Linked DNA regions of Homo sapiens: region 2 is linked to region 1. Evidence: promoter capture Hi-C in 16 types of primary human blood cells and fetal thymus (Javierre and others, 2016). All regions are on one chromosome and are shown on one strand. Each heading gives the region's core, a stretch centred on a gene start or on the middle of the fragment in contact. The rest is flanking DNA. Distances are from core to core; before and after follow the strand shown.

Region 1 (5,813 bases), core at 1,588-4,087:
CAGACAGGGGGCCCTTCCCTGTTTGGCAGCTGAGGTGGAGAGAGAGAGAGGACAGCTTACGCCATTATTTCTTCTATGCATTTCAAAGACTTTAGTACTTTCACTAATTCCGCTACTGCTGATTAGAAGGCAGAACCAGGTGTACAGGGTGGAACATGAAAGTGGACCAGGAGTGTGACCACTGAAGCACGGCATCACAGGGAGACGTTTAGGCCTCTGGATGGCTGCGGGCGGGCCTGACTGATGTCAGGCTTTCCGCAAGAGGTAGTGAGCAGAGTCTTCTCTAACTCCCCCGGGGAAAGGGAGACTCCCTTTCCCTGTCTGCTAAGCAATGGGTGCCTTCCCCAGGCACTGACGCTACTGCTAGACCAAGGTCCGCTAGGTAACGGGCTCCTTCCCAGGGGCTGGCATTACCGCTAGACCAGGGAGCCCTCTGGTGGCTCTGTCCAGGCATAACAGAGGGCTCACCCTTGTCTTCTGGTCACTTCTCACCATGTCCCTTCAGCTCCTATCTCTGTATGGCCTGGTTTTTCCTAGGTTATGATTGTAGAACAAAGATTATTATAATATTGGAATAAAGAGTAATGCTACAAATGATTAATGATATATACAATCATATCTATAATCTATTTCTAGTATAACTACTCTTATTCTATATATTTTCTTTATTATACTGGAACAGCTTGTGCCCTCGGTCTCTTGCCTTGGCACCTGGGTGGCTTGCCACCCACGCGTACAAAGAAGGCAGAAAGGAAATACAGAAAATTCAAACACTGCTGGGATTCTGAATGTTGTTTGTCTTTTCCTTATACTTTTCCTTTAAAATAAAAAACTACAATGAGAACATAATGCTTCATAATAGAAAAAGATTTACACTTAAAAAACATAGATGATGAAAGGGAGCTGGCTAGGGCACCAGGGACAGGCATTGGGAAGGTGACCTCAAGCCGCAGTGAAGAAGTAATGAACAACCTAGGGACCAATACAGAAAGGCCACCTGTGGTTCACTTATATAACACATCTCTACCTCATATTATACCAAAATACATTCCCTGAGCAGTAAAGAATTATACGTTTTAAAAAGCAGTACAATTTGGAAGTAAATTAGGAAGTATTTTTATATTTTAGAGTTTGGGGAGACATTTAAAAGCAAACTAGGAAACTCAGAAACCATTTTACTAAAAGTATAGATTCATTGGGGATATATAAAATTGAATATATATATTTTTGAGATGGAGTCTTTCTATTGTCGCCCAGGCTGGAGTGCAATGGCGCGATCTCAGCTCACTGCAACCTCTGCCTCCCAGGTTCAAGCGATTCTCCTTGCCTCAGCCTCCTGAGTAGCTGGGATTACAGGCACCCGCCACCATGCCCAGCTAATTTTTTGTATTTTTAGTAGAGATGGGGTTTCACCATGGTAGCCAGGCTGGTCTTGAACACCTGACCTCAGGTAATCCACCGGCCTCGGCCTCCCAAAGTGCTGGGATTACAGGCATGAGCCACTGCGCCTTGCCTAAAATTAAATATTTTATATGGATATCATATTATAAACTAAGAGGAGCAAAATTATGTTATCAACTCAATTGTTGCATAAACATTTGATAGTGTTCATAAAAAATTATTGATAAAATATCTTTATAAACCTGGTTTAAAAAGATTAACTTGATAAGAGGTGCAACCTGTTGTAAACAGCTTACTGAGGAACTTTGGTAATCATTACCGACCAAGACAAGAATGCTTAATTTCTTTCCGACTTATAGTTGAGGAAGCCCTAAACAAACAATAAGAAAAAGAAATGACTCTGGGTGTGGTGGCTTACACCTGTACCCCTAGCACTCTGGGAGGCTGAGGTGAGAGGATAGCTTGAGCTCAGGAGTTTGAGACCAGCTTCAGCAACATAGTGCGATCCCATCTCTACAAAAAAATAAAGAAAATAGCTGGGTGGGGTGGTACGCGACTGTATTCTCAGCTACTTGGGGGGCTGAGATGGGACCATCACTTGAGCTGGGGAAGTCAAGGCTGCAGTGAGCCATGGTCGCGCCACTGCACTCCAGTCTAGGCGATAGAATGAGACATTGCCTCACATAAAGAAATGAGTTATACACATTAAAACAATGAAAATATGCAGAGAAAATATTTATATTTGATGGTTCAAATAATAAACTGACAGCTATCAGAATTCAGCAAGTTTCCAGGAAAAAGGTTCTATTTAAATAATTATCAATGGCTTCCCTCTACAGGAGAAGTTATCAATACAACAATGAAAGGGAAAACTAAAAGGCCCAAAAGGACTGAGTGAGTGTCAAGGAGAGTCTGTTTCCTATTAGAGCTGCAAATATATGTGTCCTGTGTACAGGACTGTAGCAACGTGGAGGATAGGTAGAAACCCGATCGATGAGCATCCTGTATCCGTGGTAGCTGAGAACCTGGATGGGAAGCCCTAGCCTTAGCCCCATCCCTAGGCCTTGTCACTTAAGCCCCGCCCAGCCCTCGTCTCCGCCCCCTAGGAATTTCTACCAAGCCCCGCTCCCAATCTGGTTCCACCTTTAGCCCCGCCCCTTGGAGTATTTAAAAGGCCACGCCCCTAGGTCTAGCCCCAGTTCCGCCCCTCAGGCCGAGTCATGCAAGTCCAGTTCAGGGTTCTGTTTCTTCTCTGTTTACTCCAAATCATGAAGAAACTAGGATTTCTCATCCACTTGCGGCTGGAACCAGCCTTGGCGCTCCTTTGCATCCCGCTCCTACCTGCTCCACCCCCTTCACCTCAAGTCCCGCTTCCCAGGCCCCGCCCCATACGCCATTTGCAGCGCCGAAAGAGGAATCAGAAGTGTGCTTCTGCGCATGCGCGAGTCGACAGCCTTGTCACCCTACGCCTCCGCCCGCGTCTGAGGAACATTTTTGCCTCCGCCCGCTTCCTGTCCTGCCCTGCCCCGCCCCGCCCTGCCTGCCCCGGGTCGGGTCCGCGGGAGACCGAGGGCTGGGTTTGGGAATCGGCGGTCTAAGGGCTGCCTCCCCGCCACTCCTTGTCCGGACCCCGCGCCCGGGGCCTCCCGCCGCCGCGGCGCCTCCTCAGAGAGCCCGGGTCAGCTGCCCCTGTGGCCGCGGCTGGTCCCAAACTCACTGAATCGGGAACTCTGGTCTGGGTACAGAAATCGGGGTGATTCTGATGCAGGCGAGAGTTGGAGAACCAATGTCGTAGTTCATCAGCCTCCGAAAGCATCCTTTGCTCTCTTTCCAGAAAGGAAGAGCATCTCTGCCATTCGTGTCTCAAGGACAAGCGCTTCAGCCTCGTTCTCTGTGAGCTGATCTGTGGATCGCGGCGTGTCGGGTGAGCACGGGGTGACATTTGCCTCGGCTCGGTCCCCTCCTGTCCCCTCTTTATGCATTAGGTAGTGTTTGGGCCAAGCGCGGTGGTTCACGCCTGTAATCCCAGCACTTTGGGCGGCCGAGGCGGGCGGATCGCTTGAGCCCAGGAGTTTGAGGCCAGCCTGGGCAACATAGCAAGATCCCGTCTCTACCAAAAAAAAAAAAAAAAAAAAAAGTAAAATAAAAGGTGCTCTCCTGTGTTCCCAGCTACTCGGGAGGCAGAGGTTGCAGTGAGCTGAGATCGCATCACTGCACTCCAGCCTGGGCAACAGAGCGAGACACTGTCTCAAAAAAACAAAAAGATAGTATTTGGTCTCTGGATATTATATTCTGCCTGTGGACATCAGTTTGATACATTATATTCAAGTGAAAGTGAACTGATGCATTTTGTCATTAATGATGCATTTGAATCATTTGTCTATAGATTGGTTAAATTTCACACAGAAAATTTGGTCATCTGTCAGTTTCAATCTTTTCCCTTTTTATTCCTTGCAGTTTCCATTTCTTTTCATTTCTTTACTGCACTTGCCAGGACCTCCAGTACAATGTCCGACAGAATAGCATGTAATTTACATCCTGTCTTGTTTCTGATTCCAGAGGGAATTATTCTATCATTTCACCATTAAATAGGATGTTTGCTGTAGGTGTTTGTAGGTTTTTTTCCTTTCTTTATTCCTATTTCTTTTTAGAAAATAGGAGTCTCGCTCTGTTGCCCGGGCAGGTCTCGAACTCATGGGCTCTCCGCCTCCCAAAGTGCTGGAATTACAGGCATGAGCCACTGCACCCGGCCTGACCGTGTTTTAAACCGCTGATTTTTTTTTCTTTAATTACTGGGTGTAATCAGGTTTTAGATCACTGCTTGAAAGTTGTACTACTTTCTAGAAATTCATTAATTACCTGTGCATCTTCATATTTATTCCTTAAATTTTTTCTATATTCTCCTTATGATATCTGTAATTATGATTAATTCTTGTTCATTTTTTTTTTGTTGTTGTTGTTTATGCCCTGTTGCTCTTAAAATTGCTGAGTCTGTTGCTGGCTGCAGTGGCGCATATCTGTAGTCCCAGCTGGTGGGAAGCTAAGGCAGATGGATCGCTTGAGCCTAGGAAATGAGATCAACCTGGGAACATAAAGAGTCTGTCTTAAACAATAAATTAAATTAAAAAATTTTTTTAAAAAGCTGAGTTTGTCAGTTTCATTAGTTTTTCTTTTTGCAAAGGATGCTTTTTTAGCTTTTCTGATTTTGTTTACTATGTTTTAAAAAAGATTATTTTCTATTTTCTTTCTAAACTTTTATGCTGGTCTTTATTCAACTTTATATATCAATAGTCTAGCCTATTAATACCGATTTTTTTTTTTTTTTTTGAGACAGAGTCTCGCTGTGTCTCCCAGGCTGGAGTGCAGTGGCGTGATCTTGGCTCACTGCAACCTCTGCCTCCTGGGTTCAAACAATTCTCTGCCTCAGCCTCCCAAGTAGTGGCGATTACAGGCACCTGCCACCATGCCCAGCTAATTTTTTTGTATTTTTAGTAGAGGTGGGTTTCACCATCTTGGCCAGGCTGGTCTTGAACTCCTGACCTTGTGATCCACCCACCTTGGCCTCCCAAAGTGCTGGGATTACAGGTGTGAGCCACCGTGCCTGGCCAGTACTGATTTTTTTTCCTCTAGGAGTTGATAATGCTTATAAATATATAATAGATATACTAAACCCTCTGAAATTCCAGCATGATCTGAAATAGTTATTTTAATTTTCTGCTTCTACCCTGCCACATTACCTGTCCTGACTTGCTAAAGATAAATATGTTACGTGTCTCCTTATCCCTATAATGTGCTACATTTTTTATATAGCATGTATCTCTACCTGATGTATTTTGTTTAATGTCTTACCCAAAATATTATAACATTCATTTGCTTCAGGATTTTTCTTTTTTATTTTTCTATGCCTTATTCCTTGTGACTTCATGTAGTAGGGTCAGGATAAATGTCACCTAAATAAACATGAAACGAAGGAGGTAAGGGCTATAAGGGAAGCATCGTTGCCCAAGACATAGGCCTTAGGAAAAGGAGCTCAAAGATAACATATTTGATTATTTATTTATTTTATTTATTTTGAGACAGAGTCTGGCTCTGTTGCCCAGGCTGGAGTGCAGTGGTGTGATTTCGGCTTACTGCAACCTCTGCCTCCTGAGTTCACACAATTCTCCTGCCTCAGCCTCCTGAGTAGCTGGGACTACAGCTGTGCGCCACCATGCCCGGCTGATTTTTGTAGTTTTAGTAGAGACAGGGTTTCGCCATTTTGGCCAGGCTGGTCTTGAACTCCTGACCTCATGTGATTCCCCCGACCTTGGTCTCCCAAAGTGCTGGGATTACAAGCATGAGCTACCACGCACAGCATATTTGATTAGAATGCTTCATTTGTCCACTCTCTGTAGTGCCCAATAGGGTTCTAG
Region 2 (5,277 bases), core at 1,660-4,159, 200 kb before region 1:
TTGCTCAACTGTAGTAGCTGTCTTACAATTCAAGCTCAAGCATGGTTGAGTCACCATGGAAAAGTCATGTGCTTATTAGGTCTTAGTTCTATTAATGTAACTGGTGTGCTAACCAACCATTCCCGGCCCAATCACCCCAATTGTGTTGACTATATGGAATGGATTCCCTTCAATAGTTCCTACCCCGCTCCATGGACCCAATGTCTTGGCCCACTGGCTAGAAAACAATCTATGTTAACTGAAGACATTGTGACTTGGGGACCTAAAGGTCAACTAGATGGTAAAGATAAAATCAGACATCATGGCACAAACTTCACTGTCATTGGTAGCAGACTTTCAATGCTTCTTCTTTACACCACACCAGGATCCAATCCCATTCTGCTGCCAGGGTTGCTTGGCATGGAACAGGCTTTATCCCGCCTCTTCTTCAGTGGCAATATCTAGGTAGGAAAGGTCCAATTCAAGAAACAATATGGAAAGCAGCAGTCCCATTTACAAATGGTACTATCTGGGTAGGGGTACTCTCTAATACTAGTACTGCTACTCGACACAGTTTTGATGTTACATTTGTAAAGAGTATCACCACTAAATTTACGGTTTGTGTTTTTAATCCTTATGTCTTTATGGCAGCTAAGAAGGACCAGCTCCAGGTAAACAATACCCAATTGACCTGTAAATCTTGTCAGTTATATCACTGCATTAATCATAGCACATTGCAAACACATCTCTACCTTGATAATTATGGGTCGCATCCCTGGGATATGGATTCCTGTTAATCTGTCAGAGCCTTGGGCCTCCACCCCTGCTTTGCACTTCATGAAACTTCTAACTCAGCTTACTCATTGTACCCGTAAAGTCTTAGGCATGATAATTTTTGCTATTATTTCCTTGGTCACACTAATAACTTCTGTAGTAATGTCCTCTGTAGCTTTGCATAGTTCTGTTCAAACAGCTCAGTACGTGGAGAACTAGACATGTACCACCAAGAAAATATGGCTACTTCAGAGTAAAATTAACACTGAGTTACAAACTGAAGTGGCAATGTTGAAATCCATGGTTCCATGGTTAGGGCAACAAGTACAAAGCTTACAATTGCAACAGCAATTGTGCTGTCATTTTAATCACACTCATATTTGTGTAACCAACTTAGAATATAACCAAAGTGAGTATCCATGGGACCTTGTGAAAGCCCATTTGCAGGGAGCTTTCACATCCAATATCGCCTTTGATATTGGTGAATTATGAAACAAAATTATTGGTTTAAATAAGCAAACTCAAGAGTTTCAGCCTTCTTTAGAAGCCTGGACCAAATTCCAGTGAGGTCTGGAGAGCCTCAATCCTTGGACCTATCTAAAGCGCCACATTAACATCTCATGTATAGTTCTGGGAATAATGCTGTTCTGTCTTTGTTTTCTGTTCATAGTCTATAAAATTGGATGGACTGCCAATCAGAAAATGAGAGCTGCCCAACCTGGCCTTACATTCATTCAATTAATGCAAAAACAGAAAGGGGGAGATATTGGGAGCTGAAAACCTGAGGGTCATGACCAACTCAGCATTCCATTGGAGGCTATATGATCAAACAGCAAACTGTTTATCATGAATGCAGGATGTGGGCAAACTCACATCTGTGCCTGCCACCAGAAGGTAGGCTGAGGGCAATCACTCCCTGGCACTGTGCACCTTGAGGTTATCTACTGGAATATCTGGAGCCTACTGTTCAAGGAAAGCAGACATGCAGGCCTGCACTAAATCATGCAACTGGCTCATGATCACCTGCTCCTCCCTATTTCCTTTACTCAATAAATACAAAGGGCTCTAGAAGCTCAGGGCCCTTGTTCACTAGAAGCAAGGAGCCCCCTGACCCCTTCTTTTAAAACAGATCTTTTTATCTTTGTCTTTATTCCTGTGTTCATCCTCCTTTGCTCAGTCCTCTGGGGTCTGTGGCAGAAGATAAAAAACACTATTACATGAGATTTTCCACCTTTTCATTGTCTATCCATTTATTCACATTTTCATTTATTCTCAGAGAAGGAACTGTTTTAATTCCTTTTAAACGTTTTTATTTAGTGTTCTTTGTAAAGTTTTCTGTACTTTTCTTTCTAGATTATATCCTTTTTTACTTTCTTTTCAAAATACTTTCTAAATAAAATACCTACCAATTCTAAATAAGATAACATGGAGCTATTTTCTTTGTAAAGCCAAACTCCTAACATTAGTTCTTTGGTCACTGGTTGCATCTTCTCTTCCATAGAAGATGTGAGCATGCAGAAGAAAGAATCCACAAATTTGAAGATAGAACCTTTGAAAAATATCAACTCTGAGGGGACTAAAGGAAAAAGAATGAAGACCAAACAGAACTTAAAGGACCTGTAGTACACCATGCATCAGACCAACATACACATTATGGAAGCTGAAGAAAGATAACAGAGAAATAAAGGGGAAGAAGTAAAATGTGAAGAAATATTAAGCAAAACTTTCCAAATTTGATGAAAGACATGAATCTTTAAATCCAAGAAGCTCAACAAACTCCAAGTAAGAGAAACTCAGTCGGGCGTGGTGGCAGGTGCCTGTATTCTCAGCTACTCGGGAGGTTGAGGCACAAGAATCCCTTGAACTTGGGAGGCAGAGGTTGCAGTAAGCTGGGATTGCACCATTGCACTCCAGCCTGGGCAACAAGAGCAAAACTTCATCTCAAAAAAAAAAAACATTAAAAAAAGAGAAACTCAGGCCTACAGTGAATCACATATCATCAAAATGTCAAATGGCAAAGACAAAGAGTGCTGAAAGAAGTGATTCTCAATACTATTAATAACAAATATGTCATCAGAAATCATGGGGGACATAGTCGGTGAGATGACATATTTAAGAGCTGAAAAAGAAACACTATCAACCAAGAATTCTGTGCTCACCAGAAATGTTCAAAAATGAGGGAGAATTTAAGACATTCCTAGAAAAACTAATGCCAAGGACAGTTACCACTACACTTGCCATACAAGAAATGCTGCTGGACGTGGTAGCTCATGCCTTTAATCCCAGCACTTTGGGAGGCTGAGGCAGGTGGATCACGAGGTCAGGAGTTTGAGACCAGCCTGGCCAACATAGTGAAACCCCGTCTCTACTAAAAATACAAAAACTAGCCAGGTACAGTGGTGCATGCCTGTACTGCCAGCTACTTGGGAGGCTGAGGCAGGAAAATTGCTTGAACCCGGGAGGCAGATGTTTTGGTGAGCCAAGATCGTGCCACTGCACTCCAGCCTGGGCAACAGAGTGAGACTCTGTCTCAAATAAATAAATAAATAAACAAATAAACATAAAAGAGATGCTAAAAGGAGTTCTTCAGGATGGAATAAAAGGATGCTAGACAGTAACTCAAGCTGTGTGGAGAAATAAAGATCTCTAGTAAAGGTAAGTATATTGGAAAATATAAAACCACATTTATGGTATTTTTGTATCTAATTCCAGTTTTTACTTTTTACTGAATTTTTTAAAAATCAATAAAAATTATAAGTGTATGTTTTAGGCATACAATATATAAAGATATATTTTGCAAAAAAAAAAAAAACAACAGAAGCGTGCAGTCGTATAGCAGAATTTTTGTATGCTATTGAAGTTAAGTAGGTACAAATTCAAATAATATAACTTTGGAATGGTAAATGTAATCCTTATGAGGGCTGTTAAAGTTTTGGCTGGGTGCAGTGGCTCACTCCTGTAATCCCAACACTTTGGGAGGCTGAGGCAGGCAGATCACCTGAAGTCAGGAGTTCGAGACCAGCGTGGCCAACATGGTGAAACCCTGTCTCTACTAAAAATACAAAAATCACCCAGGCGTGGTGGTGCGTACCTGTAATCCCAGTTACTTGGGAGGCTTAGGCAGGAGAATCACCTGAACCCAGGAGGTGGTGGTTGCAGTGAGCTGAGATCACACCACTGCACTCCAGCCTGGGCAACAGAGCAAGAAGACTCCATCTCAAAAAGAAAGAAAGAAAGAAAGAAAGAAAGTAAATATGAATGAAAGCCTGGTGTGGTGGCTAACACCTGTAATCTCAGCACATTGGGAGGGTGAGGTGGGCAGATCACATGAGGTCAGGAGTTAAAGATCAGCCTGGCCAACATGGTGAAACCCTGTCTCTACTAAAAATACAAAAATTAGCCAGGTATAGTGGCACAAGCCTGTAGTCCCAGCTACACAGGAGGCTGAGACATGAGAATCACTTGAACCTGGGAGGCAAGATTGTGCCACTGCACTCTAGCCTGGACGACACAGCAAGACTGTCTGAAAAACAAAACAAAACAAAACAAAATCAATGAAAATTAGAAGAGAGTTAAATGATTCACTCTAAAAATCAAGTAAACACAAAAAAATCAGCAGTGGAGGAAATAAGGAGCTAAAAGTATAAGACATTCAGAACACATATAGCAAAATGGCAGGAAGAAAATCCTTCTTTATTTTTACTTTAAATGTAAATGAATCAAACACTCCAAGAAAAAGTCATGCTGTTGAAGAATGGATGAAATAATAAAGACCATGATCAAATCGTATTCTGTCTACAAGAAATTCACTTTATATAAAAAGCAACAGATAGGCTGTTAGTGAAAGGATGGGAAGAAGATATTCCATGCAAATAGCAACCAAAAGATAATTGGATTGACTATAATGATATCAGACAAACGAACTTTAAGTAAAAGACTTTATAATATACAAAGGATGGCAATATATTGATAAAAGCTTCAATTCATCAAGAGATGTAATAAGCCATGCATGATGGTATATGCCTTTAATTCTAGCAACTTGGGATGCTGAGGCAGGAGGATTGCTTGAGCCTAGGAGTTTAAGTTCAGTGTAAGCAACATAATGAGACTCTGTCTTTTATTTATTTATTTATTTATTTTTTTGAGACAAAGGCTCACTATGTCGCCTGGCTGGAGTGCAGTGATGCAATCTTGGCTCACAGCAACCTCCACCTCCCAGGTTCAAGCGATTCCCCTGCTTCAGCCTCCTGAGTAGCTGGGACTACAGGTGTGTGCCACCACACCCAGCTGATTTTTGTACTTTTAGTAGAGATGGGCTTTCACTATGTTGGCCAGGATGGTCTCAATCTCTTGACCTTGTGATCCACCCTCCTTGGCCTCCCAGAGTGCTGGGATTACAGGAATGAGCCACTGTGCCCAGCCGAGACTCTGTCTCTTAAAAAAATTAAAAATTAGAAAAAGAAGATGTAGCAATCATAAACATGCATGCACCAAAAACAGACCCCAAAGTTATATGACAAAACT

The links. The method cuts DNA at HindIII sites, captures the fragments that hold promoters and counts their contacts. A CHiCAGO score of 5 or more calls a contact.
Region 2: a fragment that was not itself captured here is called in contact with the fragment with the promoter of ZNF699 in region 1 in 1 of 17 cell types (total CD4 T cells); the score reaches 5.4 in total CD4 T cells.

Annotation. Positions count from the first base shown.
Region 1 is chr19:9,306,862-9,312,674 of GRCh38, reverse strand. ZNF699 (zinc finger protein 699) reads left to right here and starts at 2,837. Exons shown (of 6, transcript NM_198535.3): 1 at 2,837-3,325. RefSeq lists silencers at 268-562, 2,918-3,167 and an enhancer at 2,738-2,857. The HindIII fragment of the contact is 15,955 bases long and covers 1-5,813 here.
Region 2 is chr19:9,504,703-9,509,979 of GRCh38, reverse strand. It overlaps LOC105372268 (a long non-coding RNA gene), which reads left to right. Exons shown (of 3, transcript XR_001753862.2): 3 at 1-2,172. It also overlaps a transcript of ZNF560 not described here. Among named protein-coding and RNA genes, the nearest start is that of ZNF560, 8.7 kb to the right of the region's middle. The HindIII fragment of the contact is 3,644 bases long and covers 1,088-4,731 here.